Regions from separate parts of the Homo sapiens genome. Here all the other regions are linked to region 3. The links are contacts of gene promoters, found by promoter capture Hi-C in human tissues and cell types (Jung and others, 2019). All regions are on one chromosome and are shown on one strand. The core of a region is centred on a gene start or on the middle of the fragment in contact, and the rest is flanking DNA. Distances in the headings are between cores, read along the strand shown.

What was found. The method cuts DNA at HindIII sites, captures the fragments that hold promoters and counts their contacts. A contact is called where the count stands out against the background at its distance.
Region 1: a fragment that was not itself captured here is called in contact with the fragment with the promoter of NGRN in region 3 in 3 of the 25 tissues and cell types used here (IMR-90 fibroblasts, bladder and lymphoblastoid cells).
Region 2: a fragment that was not itself captured here is called in contact with the fragment with the promoter of NGRN in region 3 in 1 of the 25 tissues and cell types used here (hippocampus).

What each region holds. Positions count from the first base shown.
Region 1 is chr15:90,502,687-90,507,177 of GRCh38, forward strand. No RefSeq gene overlaps it. Among named protein-coding and RNA genes, the nearest start is that of CRTC3, 25 kb to the right of the region's middle. The HindIII fragment of the contact is 5,406 bases long and covers 1-4,491 here.
Region 2 is chr15:90,479,944-90,483,973 of GRCh38, forward strand. It overlaps IQGAP1 (IQ motif containing GTPase activating protein 1), which reads left to right. Exons shown (of 38, transcript NM_003870.4): 27 at 2,017-2,157; 28 at 2,254-2,338; 29 at 3,418-3,650. Among named protein-coding and RNA genes, the nearest start is that of CRTC3, 48 kb to the right of the region's middle. The HindIII fragment of the contact is 5,949 bases long and covers 1-4,030 here.
Region 3 is chr15:90,263,046-90,267,492 of GRCh38, forward strand. NGRN (neugrin, neurite outgrowth associated) reads left to right here and starts at 2,627. Exons shown (of 3, transcript NM_001033088.3): 1 at 2,627-2,831; 2 at 3,243-3,353. The coding sequence starts at 2,668. It overlaps TTLL13 (tubulin tyrosine ligase like 13), which reads left to right. Exons shown (of 15, transcript NM_001396017.1): 13 at 1-100; 14 at 902-1,013; 15 at 1,675-2,432. The coding sequence ends at 1,922. It also overlaps a transcript of CIB1 not described here. RefSeq lists enhancers at 1,639-2,610, 2,098-2,227, 2,588-2,817, 2,611-3,581. The HindIII fragment of the contact is 14,519 bases long and covers 1-4,447 here.

The sequences.
Region 1 (4,491 bases), core at 1,443-3,942, 240 kb after region 3:
AAAAGGGGCTGGCGTAGTGGCTCACACCTGTAATCCCAACACTTTAGGAGGCCGAGGCGGGCCGGATCACCTGAGATCAGGAGTTTTAAGACCAGCCTGGCCAACATGACGAAACCCCTACTAAAAATACAAAAATTAGCTGGGTGTGGTGGCACACGCCTGTAATCCCAGCTACTCAGGAGGCTGAGGTAGGAGAATCACTTGAAGCTGGAGGCGGAGGTTGCAGTGAGCCAAGATCACACCACTGCTGTCCAGCCTGGGAGACAGAGCGAGACTCCATCTCAAAAAGAAAAGAAAAGGCTTCCTTGTCAGAGGGCAGCCTTACTTAAAAATACAAACATGTACATAAGCATCCTGTTGTGTTGGTAAACTGTGGCCAGACTATATTGGAAAATTAGTGACAGGTTGAAATAAGGGGGGAAACGGAATAATTCTAAAATAGGGAAAATGAAAAATTGGAGGTGATGGTTTGTACGAGTGGTTGGAGATGACCGCATGCTCCTCTGAGGAAGAGTGAGGGGAAGAGCATGGCTCTCCTGGTGGGACTCTGGAAGGTACCCTTCTGAGCCCCAGGTTTCTCGTTCTGAAATGGAAAGGATGCTGTCTGGTAGCTTTGTTATTGAAACCTGAAATATTTTAATAATATGCTCTATATTGTCCTGCAAAGAAATCAAGGGAGTTAGAAAAGTGCTTATCAGGACTGGGTGCAGTGGCTCATGCCTGTAATCCCAGCACTTTGGGAGGCCAAGGCGGGTGGATCACAAGGTCTGGAGATCGAGACCATCCTGGCCAAGATGGTGAAACCCTGTCTCTACTAAAAACTACAAAAAAAATTAGCTGGGCGTGGTGGCGCATGCCTGTAGTCCCAGCTACTCAGGAGAATGAGGCAGGAGAATCGCTTGAACCTGGGAGACAGAGGCTGCAGTGAGCCGAGATCATGCCACTGCACTCCAGCCTGGGGGACAGAGCGAGACTCTGTCTCAAAAAAAAAAAAAAAAAAGAAAAGTGCTTATCGGCCGGGCACGGTGGCTCACACCTGTAATCCCAGCACTTTGGGAGGCCGAGGCAGGGAGATCACGAGGTCAAGAGATCGAGACCATCCTGGGTAACACGGTGAAACCCCATCTCTACTAAAAATGCAAAAAATCAGCTGGGCTTGGTAATGGGTGCCTGTAGTCGCAGCTACTCAGGAGGCTGAGGCAGAAGAATGGCATGAACCCGGGAGGTGGAGCTTGCAGTAAGCTGAGATCGTGCCACTGCACTCCAACCTGGGCAACAGAGCGAGACTCCATCTCAAAAAAAAAAAGCTTATCAAGGTATAGCAACATTAAATAAGAAAAATAAGAGGGAAAATCAGAGTAGGGGCTGGACGTGGTGGCTCACACCTGTAATCCCAGCGCTTTGGGAAGCCAAGGCGGGTGGATCGCTTGAGATCAGAAGTTGGAGACAAGCCTGGCCAACATGTTGAAACCCTGTTTCTACCAAAGATACAAAAATTAGCCCGCGTGGTGGTGCGCACCTGTAGTCCCAACTACTTAAGAGGCTGAGGCGGAAGGATTGCTTGAGCCTAGGAGGTTGAGGCTTGTGGTAAGCCATGATTGCACCACTGCACTCCATCCTGAGTAACAGCAACACCCTGTCTCACAAAAAACAAAAAGAAAAAAAAGTAGGAAAGTAAGATGGAACCCAGAGCAATGGCAGAGTGAATGCCATGGAGTCCCAGCTGCTGCTGGTGGTGCCACTGCACCAACGGGGAGGGAGACGGGGTTGTCACAGCCCTGCTGCTCATTCTTTTGCCTGTGTATCCCTGAAAATAATTTGGGAAAACGTATACATCCCTTCACACATTTTAAGTTTGACAAATACATTTTTAATGTTTAAATCAAGAGTACCTGCTAGCATGTGAATTTTAATATAAAAATGACCATAAAAATATCGAATGGAACCCACCTTCATTCATTTTTAAAGGTACATGAACAAAGCTCTTAGTTGGAAATTTCTTTTTTATTTCTTTTTTATTTTATTTTATTTATTTTTGTTTGAGACAGAAGTCTTGCTCTGTCGCCCAGGCTGGAGTGCAGTGGCGTGTTCTCGGCTCACTGCAACCTCCACTTCCCAGGTTCAAGCGATTCTCCTGCCTCAGCCTCCTGAGTAGCTGGGACTACAGGCGGCTGCCACCACACCTGGCTAATTTTTTGTGTTTTTAGTAGAGACGGAATTTCACCATGTTAGGCAGGTCTCAAACTCCTGACCTCAAGTGATCCGCCCACCTCGGCCTCCCAAAGTGCTGGGATTACAGGTGTGAACCACTATGCCTGCCCCTGGAAATTTTAAATCTTTACAAATTTAACGTTTTTTTTCTCTACTCTGCTTCCTTCAGAATTTTACCCTAGTGAAATATTTTAAAGGACATCTTATTTTTGGTCATCTGTAACAAAAATAAAAATTTGTTTTCGTGACCATAAGCCTATTAACCCAATCTAGAAAAACATTTTGCATAGTTACAGTTATTAGTGCATATTTGATTGCAGTAATTTTTTTTTTTTTTTTTTTTTTGAGTTGGAGTCTTGCTCTGTCGCCCAGGCTGGAGTACAATCTTGGCTCACCACAACCTCCGCCTCCCAGGTTCAAGCAATTGTCCTGCCTCAGCCACCCGAGTAGCTGGGATTACAGGAGCCCTCCACCACGCCTGGCTAATTTTTGTATTTTTAGTAGAGATGAGGTTTCACCGTACTGGCCAGGCTGGTCTCTTGGCTAGGCTGGTCTCGAACTCCTGACCTCGTGATCCGCCCACCTCGGCCTCCCAAAGTGCTGTGATTACAGGTGTGAGCCACCGCACCCGGCCCAGTAATGTAATATTTTATCTTGACAATTCTAAAAGATATTTGAAATGCATTTTTTTATTTTGTCATTGGTATCTAATGAAATGCATTTATTGATGAGATAAATGAAAGTCTTTTAAAATGAAAGTTTAAAAACATGGTAGACAAATATTCTTGCTAGAATGAGATGGGGCTCATGACCAATTCTATTTCTATTTTTCATTTTTATAACTGTAAGCTCCGAGAAACATTGGGGTGTTTCATTACAGCAGTGTCACACATTTCTCAGGACTCCTTAGTAACTAATCCAAAAGACTCAATGATTTATAATAAGTTATAACATGAATAGGTTCTCCAACTTTGTTGAAAGCAAAAGTTAAAAAAAGATAATTACCTAATTTGGAGAATTTATTATGCATGCAAACATTATTCACTTTCTCAGGACTTGGGAAGTAGACAAGGGGATTTACCAAGACTTTTAAAGTAACCCAATTATAACTCTTTTTTTCTTTTTTTTTTTTTTGAGATGGAGTCTCGCTCTGTCGCCAGGCGGGAGTGCAGTGGCGTGATCTCGGCTCACTGCAATGTCTGCCTCCCGGGTTCAAGCCATTCTCCTGCCTCAGCCTCCAGAGTTGCTGGGATTACAGATGCCCGCCACCACGCCCAGCTAATTTTTGTATTTTTAGTAGAGATGGTGTTTCACCATGTTGGCCAGGATGGTCTCTATCTCCTGACCTCGTGATCTGCCCGCCTCGGCCTCCCAAAGTGCTGGGATTACAGGCATGAGCCGCGGCGCCAGCCTATACTCATAACTCTTTAACTTAAAGATAGCTTATTTAATCCAATATGTTAATACGCTTGGGAAAACAGAAATATTTTAATACTCCTTTGGTACTATAATTTTTTAACTTTTATTGCAGGGAACTTTCAACATATAAACGGGGAATAATGTAATGAGCACCCATGTGTCCATCATGCAGCCCAGCAATTATCAACACACAGTTAAGCTTATTTCACCTGTACCTCTGCCCAAACCCTCTTGGGTTACTTTGACAAAACCCAGGTATAGTATCATTTCAACCATAAATACTGCAGTACATGTCTCTAACACAGTTTTTTTTTTTTTTAATCACAGAAGATATTTGGCTGTTTGGAAATATTTTTAATTGGCCTGACGAAAGAGGTGCTACTGGCATCTAGTGGGTAGAGGTGAGGGATGCCACTTGACATCTTTCAGTGCAACAGGACAGCCCACTGCAACCAAGAATGATCCAGCCTCAAATATTAATAATGCCTGGGGTGAGACGCTGCTCTTACAGATAAGGACTTAAAAAAAATCCCCATCCCATCATCACACCTAACAAATTATTTTAAAATATCAAATTATTTTAAAATATCACACCGTTTAAATATCACCATTTACATTTTTAATTTAAATTTTTAAATTTTAAAATATCACCGTTTAAATTTCCCCATTCATCTTATCATTGTTCAGTTTGTATTTTTGAATCAGGTGCCAGACAAGATCCATGCATTACATTTAGTTGATAGGTCTCTTAAATATCTTTTCCTTTTCTTTTTTTTTTTGAGACAGAATCTCACTCTGTTGCCCAGGCTGGAGGGCAGTGGCTTGATCTCAGCTCACTGCAACCTCAGCCTCCCAGGTTCA
Region 2 (4,030 bases), core at 961-3,460, 220 kb after region 3:
AGCCCCATGTACACTGGCTCCGGGCTTCTCAGTTATTTCCTCTGATGGTCCATGAGTCAGTCATTTTCAGATCCAAAGCCCGCTGGACATTTCAGGATTGGTTTTCTTGTGGGTACCTATAAGAAACTGGTGTCTTATTTTGCCTTTCATAAAATGGAAATTGAGCCAGGCATGGTGGCATGCACCAGTAGTCCCAGTTGCTCAGGAGGCCAAGACAGGAAGATCGCTTGAGCCCAGGAGTTTGAGCACTGCCTGGGCAATGTAGACCCCATATCTTAAAAAAAAAAAAAAAAAAAAAGGAAATTGATTTGAACTCTTTTTAAGATACCAGTGACTGTGAGGGATGGTGGTGTGGTGGGGATCTGTCCTGCAGGTAAGCATCACAGGTCCCTTAGCTTTCTTCTTTTACTTCAGCCACCATACACGTAGCAAACTGGAATCTTGTCACCTCTTGGGAATGTTCTTTCCTAAAATCTCAAAGTTAATGTTCTGTTCTATCACCAACGTTTTTTAGCATATTGATTCCCTTGCTGGTTACTACTTTTAAAACTCATATAAATAATAAAATATACAATATTCTTTATTGTTAAGTTCCATGTATTTATTTATTTCTCATAGAATGTTTCTGTTGATTTTTGCAGAATTTTTGTGTTCATAGTCTACCAATTTTAATTTAGCCATGCTATGACAAATGAAGAGGGGTATCCCTATCTACTTGTATTTTTCTTTTTGTTGTTGTGGTTGAGACAGAGTCTCGTTCTGTTGGTCAGGCTGGAGTGCAATGGTGTAATCTCAGCTCACTGCAACCTCTGCCTCCCTGGTTCAAGCGATTCTGCTGCCTCAGCCTCCCGAATAGCTGGGATTACAGGCATGCGCCACACGCCTGGCTAATTTTTGTATTTATAGTAAAGATGGGGTTTCTCCATGTTGGCCAGGCTGGTCTCAAACTCCTGACCTCAGGTGATCCACCCGCCTCGGCCTCCCAAAGTGCTAGGATGACAGGCGTGAGCCACCACACCCGGCCTCTACTTGTATTTTCTAAGGCTGCCATAACAAATCACCTCAAATTGGGTGGCTTAAAACAACCGAAAGTCATGGTCTCACAATTGTGGAGGCCAGAAATTTGAAACCATTATCATGAAGTCGAGGTGCTGGAAGAGCCACGCTCCCTGCAGAGGCTCTAGTGGAAACTCTGTTTCTTGACTCTTAGAGCTTGTGGTGACTGTTGACATCCCTCAACTTGTGGCTGTGTGGTTCCAGCCTCTGCCTTTGTGGTCACATTGCCTTCTCTTCCCCTTCTGTGTGTACCAAAGCTCTCTCTGCCTCTTTTTTTTTTTTTTTTTTTTTTTTTTAAGACAAGGTCTTGCTCAAGCAGTCCTCCCACCTCAGCCTTCCTAGTAGCTGGGAATGCTAGCATGTGCTGCTGTGCCTGGCATAGCACTCCTATCCTTGAAGACCTCCTTCTGGTTTCTAACAAAGTCCAGATTTGTCAGTATCATATACGGGGTCTGTCATGGCCTGCTCCCTGTCTGCTTTTCCACTGTCATTTCTCCTGTCTCCCCTTCCTTCCTAGAAGACTCTTCCTCTCCTTTTTTCCTGAGTTCAAGCATCCCTTCGTTTTGGAAGCTTTCCTTGCTTTTTCCATTCTGAGTTGAAGCCCTTTCCCTATGGTCCTGTGGCACTTTTGGTGAACTGATTTACAGCACAATAGGTTTATAATCATCTGTTTGTGTGTCGCTCCCACCAGACTGTAAAAGACTGAAGAGAAGGTGTCATGTCTTGTATAACTTTTATTCCCAAGTGCCTGTTATTGTGCCTGGCACACAATTCAGGCACCTGATTCACAGTTAAAAACCTGCGTTCAGATTCTAGACTTATCACTTACCAGCCCCGTGAGGATGAGCTTAAGCTATCTAATATTTCTGGGTCTTATAGTTTATGAAAGATAAGACACTTGCTTCAGGCTGTTCCTGGCTGTTAGTCTAACATAGTTGGGTATAATTTCTGTCTTCCCAGCAAACTGCCCTATGATGTGACCCCTGAGCAGGCGCTAGCTCATGAAGAAGTGAAGACACGGCTAGACAGCTCCATCAGGAACATGCGGGCTGTGACAGACAAGTTTCTCTCAGCCATTGTCAGCTCTGTGGACAAAATCCCGTGAGTGCCATCAGTTGTCATGACCCCCAGTAGAACCCAGCACTAAGTGCCTTTCTGCTCCTTGGCCCTTCTCACTAAGTTTTGTCCATCCCGCAGTTATGGGATGCGCTTCATTGCCAAAGTGCTGAAGGACTCGTTGCATGAGAAGTTCCCTGATGCTGGTGAGGATGAGCTGCTGAAGGTAAGAATCTCATAGCCGGCAGACTCCTGCCCTTTGAGGACAAAGCAATAAAACCAGGGCTGACCATAGATCATTACTAACTGCCTAAGTGTAGGTTCTGGCAGTAGCTTACCATTGATTGTGAGCTTTTGAAAGCAATTGTAATTGGTAAATGGTACCTCTCTTAGGATGAAACACTTCCTATAGTTTGGCACACAAACATCAAACAAGTAGAAAGATGGATTTTTCCTGTTTTCAGATGAGTTTCTTTGAGTCCTATCTTTTCGCTGTAGTATTGTTCCCTCTGCTGGTGACCTGGCGAATAGTAGCAGGCACAGTTGTTTCTGCTAAGGCTGTTGCTGATAACTCTTTCTTACTCAGCTATGCTCTTCTCTTTTCTTTTTTTTTTTAATCTGAATGCTTTTTTCTTCTCTCTCCTAGTTCTGTGCTTTCCTACAGTGAGGCCTCGATTCTAGACTTTCTGTTCAGGTGAATTAATTTTATTTCTTCTGAATGAAACTCTAGGGGAAATGCTGTGACTGCCCCTGAATTCTTCTGTGGAAGAGATGTGTGTTAAGTGAATTTAATTTCAGAGGCATGAACTTGGCCTTTGAAGTCTGCAGCATGAGAATGTTGGGAGGTGGGGTTACTCTATGCTGATTGGGTCATGTTAAGGAATTTAGCTATGTTTGTTAGCTTTTTATAAGGAAAGCCCATCTACATGAAAGTACAAAGTGCATGTGGGTGACAGCAGCCTTATTTGCTACCATGATATGTGAACAAAAGATGCCCTGAAATACTTAATAACAGACTTTAAGTGTGTCATTTTTACCTTCTGAATCTGCTCTTTCATTAACTACTGGCAGTAGTTTTCAGTTCTGTTCTCATTGTTTTCCTGTATTGAACAAAGGGATATTTCATTTAGTTCCAGGCCATGAGAGAGAGTGTGTATATGTGCATGCATGCGTGTGTATATGTATTTTTTATTTATTTTTTCCTCATAGGACTGCATTTTCTGCTTTTCTTTGCTAGCAAAGTCATTTATAGCTTCCTTGGTGGTATGTCTTTTAATACCCATCTTTCTGTTTCGTCTGTTCCAGATTATTGGTAACTTGCTTTATTATCGATACATGAATCCAGCCATTGTTGCTCCTGATGCCTTTGACATCATTGACCTGTCAGCAGGAGGCCAGCTTACCACAGACCAACGCCGAAATCTGGGCTCCATTGCAAAAATGCTTCAGCATGCTGCTTCCAATAAGATGTTTCTGGGAGATAATGCCCACTTAAGCATCATTAATGAATATCTTTCCCAGTCCTACCAGAAATTCAGGTAAGGGGAAAGGCACAAGTGCTTAAGAGAGTCTGTGGATGTATTTTTATTGTTGAGGGGAAAAATAAGATTAAAAACCACCTCTCACTTTCCCCGGACTGCCATATGTAGAAGACGTGTTTGATGTGCCCAGGATTCCAGAAGATGATCCATTTACTTTGAAGAGAATTTTCATATGAAATAGATAGTAGTTAACACTTATGAAATAGATAGTAGTTAACATAAAAATAATGATGATTATGCATTTAGTACATGTTACCTTGTAATCAGAGAAGAATTGGAGAATGCTTTTAATTTTTGTAAATTAACATCTAGTTTTGAATTCAGTGCTTCAGAGCACTGTCTTAGAGATAGAATTGGTTCTCCTAATGGTGTCTGGA
Region 3 (4,447 bases), core at 1,377-3,876:
ACAAAGGGAGACTCTCATCCGAAGCCTGGGTATTGTAGAGCAGCTCACCCGTCTGCAGCACCCTGGCCCCCAGGGCCAGAAAAAACTTCATGAGAGTCGGGTGAGGGTCCCTGTGAAGTCTCCCAGAGGAAAAGGGAACAAGGGCTGTCATTCCAGGACATGGTGTTGGTCTCAACAAAGGAGGCTTGTGTGATGGTATCTGTCAGTGGAGCCTGGGAAAGCAGAGTGCGCTAGCTGGACCTTGGGAGAGGGTCTGTTGATTCCTTTTGCGTCTGTTCCCAAGCTCCTTTGTTTTAGATATGACATCCAGCAAGTTGCAGCTCCAAACCTTCTCATTTACAGGAAACTTGCTCTCTATATTCCTGTCCCAAAATAACCCCACACTCATGACTGACAAATAACAAGCCCACCACCCTCAGTGGCTTCTGTATAATTTTCTCCCTAGCACTGCCAGTGCCCCAGCTCTAATGGGAGATAAGTAAACAGATTTGGGCCAACAAAAGAGCTGCCGCTTTCACTATTCCCTGGGCTGGTAGCAAACCTGTTGGGTCTTCTGTTTTTGTTGAACCCCAAAGGAGTATCTGGTTAAATAGTGGCCGCGGCCTAGAAGAGATTTTTTTCAGTTACCTCCTTCTTCCAACGCTCCATCCAAACTTACATAAAAATGTGGTAAGGGGCTGCTCTTCTCCTCTAGCCTAGATTTTGCTAGGACAGGCTGGGCAGTCAAGAACTGAAATCTATGAGTCTGGTCCTACTGGTGCTCCTAAGAGGGGCTGCCACAGAGCAGGGCGCTCCTCATTTCCTGCATCCAGTTCTGCCCCATGAATCAATCCCCAGGATCTTAGGGGCACTGCCAAGCATGAATGCTGCAATCCCACATGTTCCCCGGTACCATCTGCAGCCCAAGAACTTCAACTGGACAGGAGAGCCGGCAGCCATCAACTCCTGTTCATTGTCAATGAAGAAGGCTGGGAGGTGCTATTTTTCCAGTGCCAGAATCAGGCTCACTAGCCGTAAGTATGCAAAACTAGCTTTGGTCATTTTGACATATGTAAATCCCACTAGCAAGCATAGAGCTTGGATGCCCCTAAAATATAATATGGCACTTCCACCAGTGTAAGAATGGGGAAGTTAGGGTACCCATTTATTTACTCCTTTTTTTTTGAGACAAGGTCACGCTCTGTCGCCAAGGCTGAAGTACAATGGCTTGATCTCACTTCACTGCAAACTCCACTCACGGGCTCAAGTAATTCTCCTGACTCAGCCTCCTGAGTAGCTGGGACTATAGGCACACACCACCATGCTCGGCTAACTTTTGTATATTTTGTTTTTGCCACGTAGCCCAGGCTGGTCTTGAACTCCTGATCCACCTGAATCAGTCTCCCAAAGTGCTAGGATTACAGGTGTAAGCCACCGCACCAGGCCTATTTAATCCTTTCTGTACACTAGACCCTGGTGATAGAAATGGCAGAAATACAGTCCCAGCACTCAAGAGGTAATAGGAACATGGACAAAAAGACATACCATACCAATTACAATACAGTGTGGGAAAGACAGTGGAGGGAAGCATGAGATGCCCTTCCTCTGTGTTGGTAATTGGGCCACAGTTGGGAAAGAGGTGAACAAATCTCTTCTGTGAATACCAACTCAGGGACATCCATGTTTCCACTGCAGAAGGACAAGCCAGCAGAAGGCTAGAAGCCATAAACCGAGTCCTGGCAGGATCAGTGCCACCCACTTTAACCCCAAAGCAGGGCTATTTTCTGCAACCGGAAAGAGTGGCATCTGACTCATGGACTGAATGCACCTTGCCCTCCATGGTAAACTCTGAACACAGAGCAGCCAAGGTTCCCCTCTGCCCTGCGTCTGCACCCATGCTGCAGCGTTCCAGAGCACTCCTCAACATCAATCAGTTCAGGTAAAAGCAGGAGGGAAGCACTCTACCTCTCCTGGATAACCTCCCCAGGTTTCCAAAGGGCATTAAATCTTTGCTAAATGAATGACTGCCACCAAGTTCCACTTTGAAAAGCCCTGCCCAGGAACCCCATTTGTATAAGGCAAAATACAAAGACACCAAGAATTCCTCAATACCCTAAGATTAATTGGGGATCGGTAAAGACTAGAAGATGAAGAGGCGCCAAGGCCAGCCATGTACTCATTTCTGCTCATCAAGCCTTAGCCTGGGTTTATCGCTAGGTGATGGGTCTGAACCCTAGGTGCGGCCCGGGGCTGGAGGCCATCCAGGAGACAATGAGCCCCTTTCCCAGAGAAGCCGAGTGCCCAAGGCACTGGGCTGTCGCCGTCAGAAGACTGCCGAGCGGAAGCCCTGCCCACCGAGGTGGCGGAGACAGGCAGGCCTGGGCAGCCGCTGGGGCGGAGGGACGGCTCTTGGAAACGGAATCCGTACTTTAATTAAAGTTTATGCAGTTTTCCAGGAGCGTCCTGTACCTCATTTCGGCCCTCACGTTTCAGGGAAGCCCTCTCCACAGTTACAGGCAGAAAGGGTGGGCCACTGAGCAGCGTGAGCCCAGATCTTACCCCCACCAAGTGAAGCGGGAAATAACTTGCTACTACCCAGCCTCCGGCCCGCCCCTTCCACTTCCGGTCTTACCCGGCTACTTCCGCTGCTGTTTCGTAGCCGACTGCTGAAGGCTGGTTTGCGTCGACATGGCGGTTACCCTGAGTCTCTTGCTGGGCGGGCGCGTTTGCGCCGCCGTCACTCGCTGTGGGTTCGCGACCCGGGGGGTGGCGGGCCCAGGCCCTATTGGCCGGGAGCCGGACCCCGATTCCGACTGGGAGCCGGAGGAACGGGAGCTGCAGGAGGTGGAGAGGTACCGGCTTCTCCCCGGGCCCTCAGCTTGAAGCAGGGCCTCGTGCCCCGGCGCTCCAGGCCGCGCCCCCTTGGCGCCGGGTGTCCTGCCGCTGCTTGCGCAGCGGCCCTTGTTTCTTCTTACCCGTTGTTAGGGGCGCAGCGTCAGGTGTTCAGCTCCCCTGGGACCACTGGTCCCTTCATTAGTGACGTATTTCATCATCAGTTTAGAGAGTTCGGCATGCTTACAGGCAGTTATTGTTCTAGGTGTTAGCTTTCTGGGTGTACGGAGCAGCTCTAAGCCGGCAACATGGCCCGGTTGCCCTTGCGATCAAAGAGAAGAGGGCTGGGCGCTCCATGATTTAGCCTGAGGCTCTTCAAACATCCATTCTGCTTCCACGCATGGCTTCTGCCATTGGTTCTCTTCCCCCAGCACCCTGAAACGACAGAAACAAGCAATCCGATTCCAGAAAATTCGGAGGCAAATGGAGGCGCCTGGTGCCCCGCCCAGGACCCTGACGTGGGAAGCCATGGAGCAGATACGGTGAGACTCAGGATACCTTGTTTGTATCCGCTGTGATGAGAAGTGAAGGATGCTGGAGCCCAGAAACGGGTTTGGCTTTTTTGATACTGCTTTTATATTTTCGTTTACTTTTTGTCGTTGAAATTTATTATCAGAAAAGTAGAGTAATATAACGAACTTCCCTAACCCTGTCATTATCTAGATTTAATAGTGTTTTGTTTTGTTTTTTAAAGAGACGGGGTTTCGCTATCGCCTCGAACTCCAGACCTCAAGTGATTCTCCCGCCTCGGCCTCTCAGAGTGCTGGGATTACAGGCATGAGCCACTGCGCCCCGCCTGGTTTTAATAGTTTTTAACGTTATGACGTGGTTGGTTCATTTTTACTGAAATTTTTAAATAGTAAATCGCAGACATCACAACATTTAACCCTTGAATGTAGGTTGTGACGTTCCCAACCTAAGGTACAGGGATGCTGGTGCTTCCATAGGTAGGTGCATTTTTCTGAAGACAGGATCTATAATTTAGGAAAGCTTAAAAGAGTTTTTAAGTTTTTTTGTTTTGAGTAGGTAAAGTATTACATATGGCTCAACCTAACAGTATAACATGGTATACACATTGAGAATTATTTGTCCCACCCACTCTCCTGTGGGTACTTTTTTTTTTTTTTTTTGGTAGTTGGGGGTCTCACTCTGTCGCCAAGGCTGGAGTACAATGATGTGATCACCGGTCACTGCAGCCTCTACCTCCTGGGCCCAAGCCATCCTCCCACTTCGTCCTCCCAAGTAGCTGGGACTACAGGTGCATGCCACCATGCTTGGTTAATTTTGTTTATTTTTTGTAGAGATAGCCTCATCATGTTGCCCATGCTAGTCTCCAATTCCCAGGGCTCAAGCGATCATCCCACCTCAGCCTCCTAAAGTGTTGGGATTACAGGCATGAGCCACTGTGTGCAGCTGTACTATTTTTAATAGTTTTTCTCTACCAAAAACTAGGCTCTGTGCCCTGAGTGAGCCACTGCGCCTGGCCCTCAATTCTTTTTTTATAGATGGTGTTATTATATTTTTTTGAGGCAGTATATGAGGCAGTATATGACAGTGGTTTTTAATTTTTATTTAA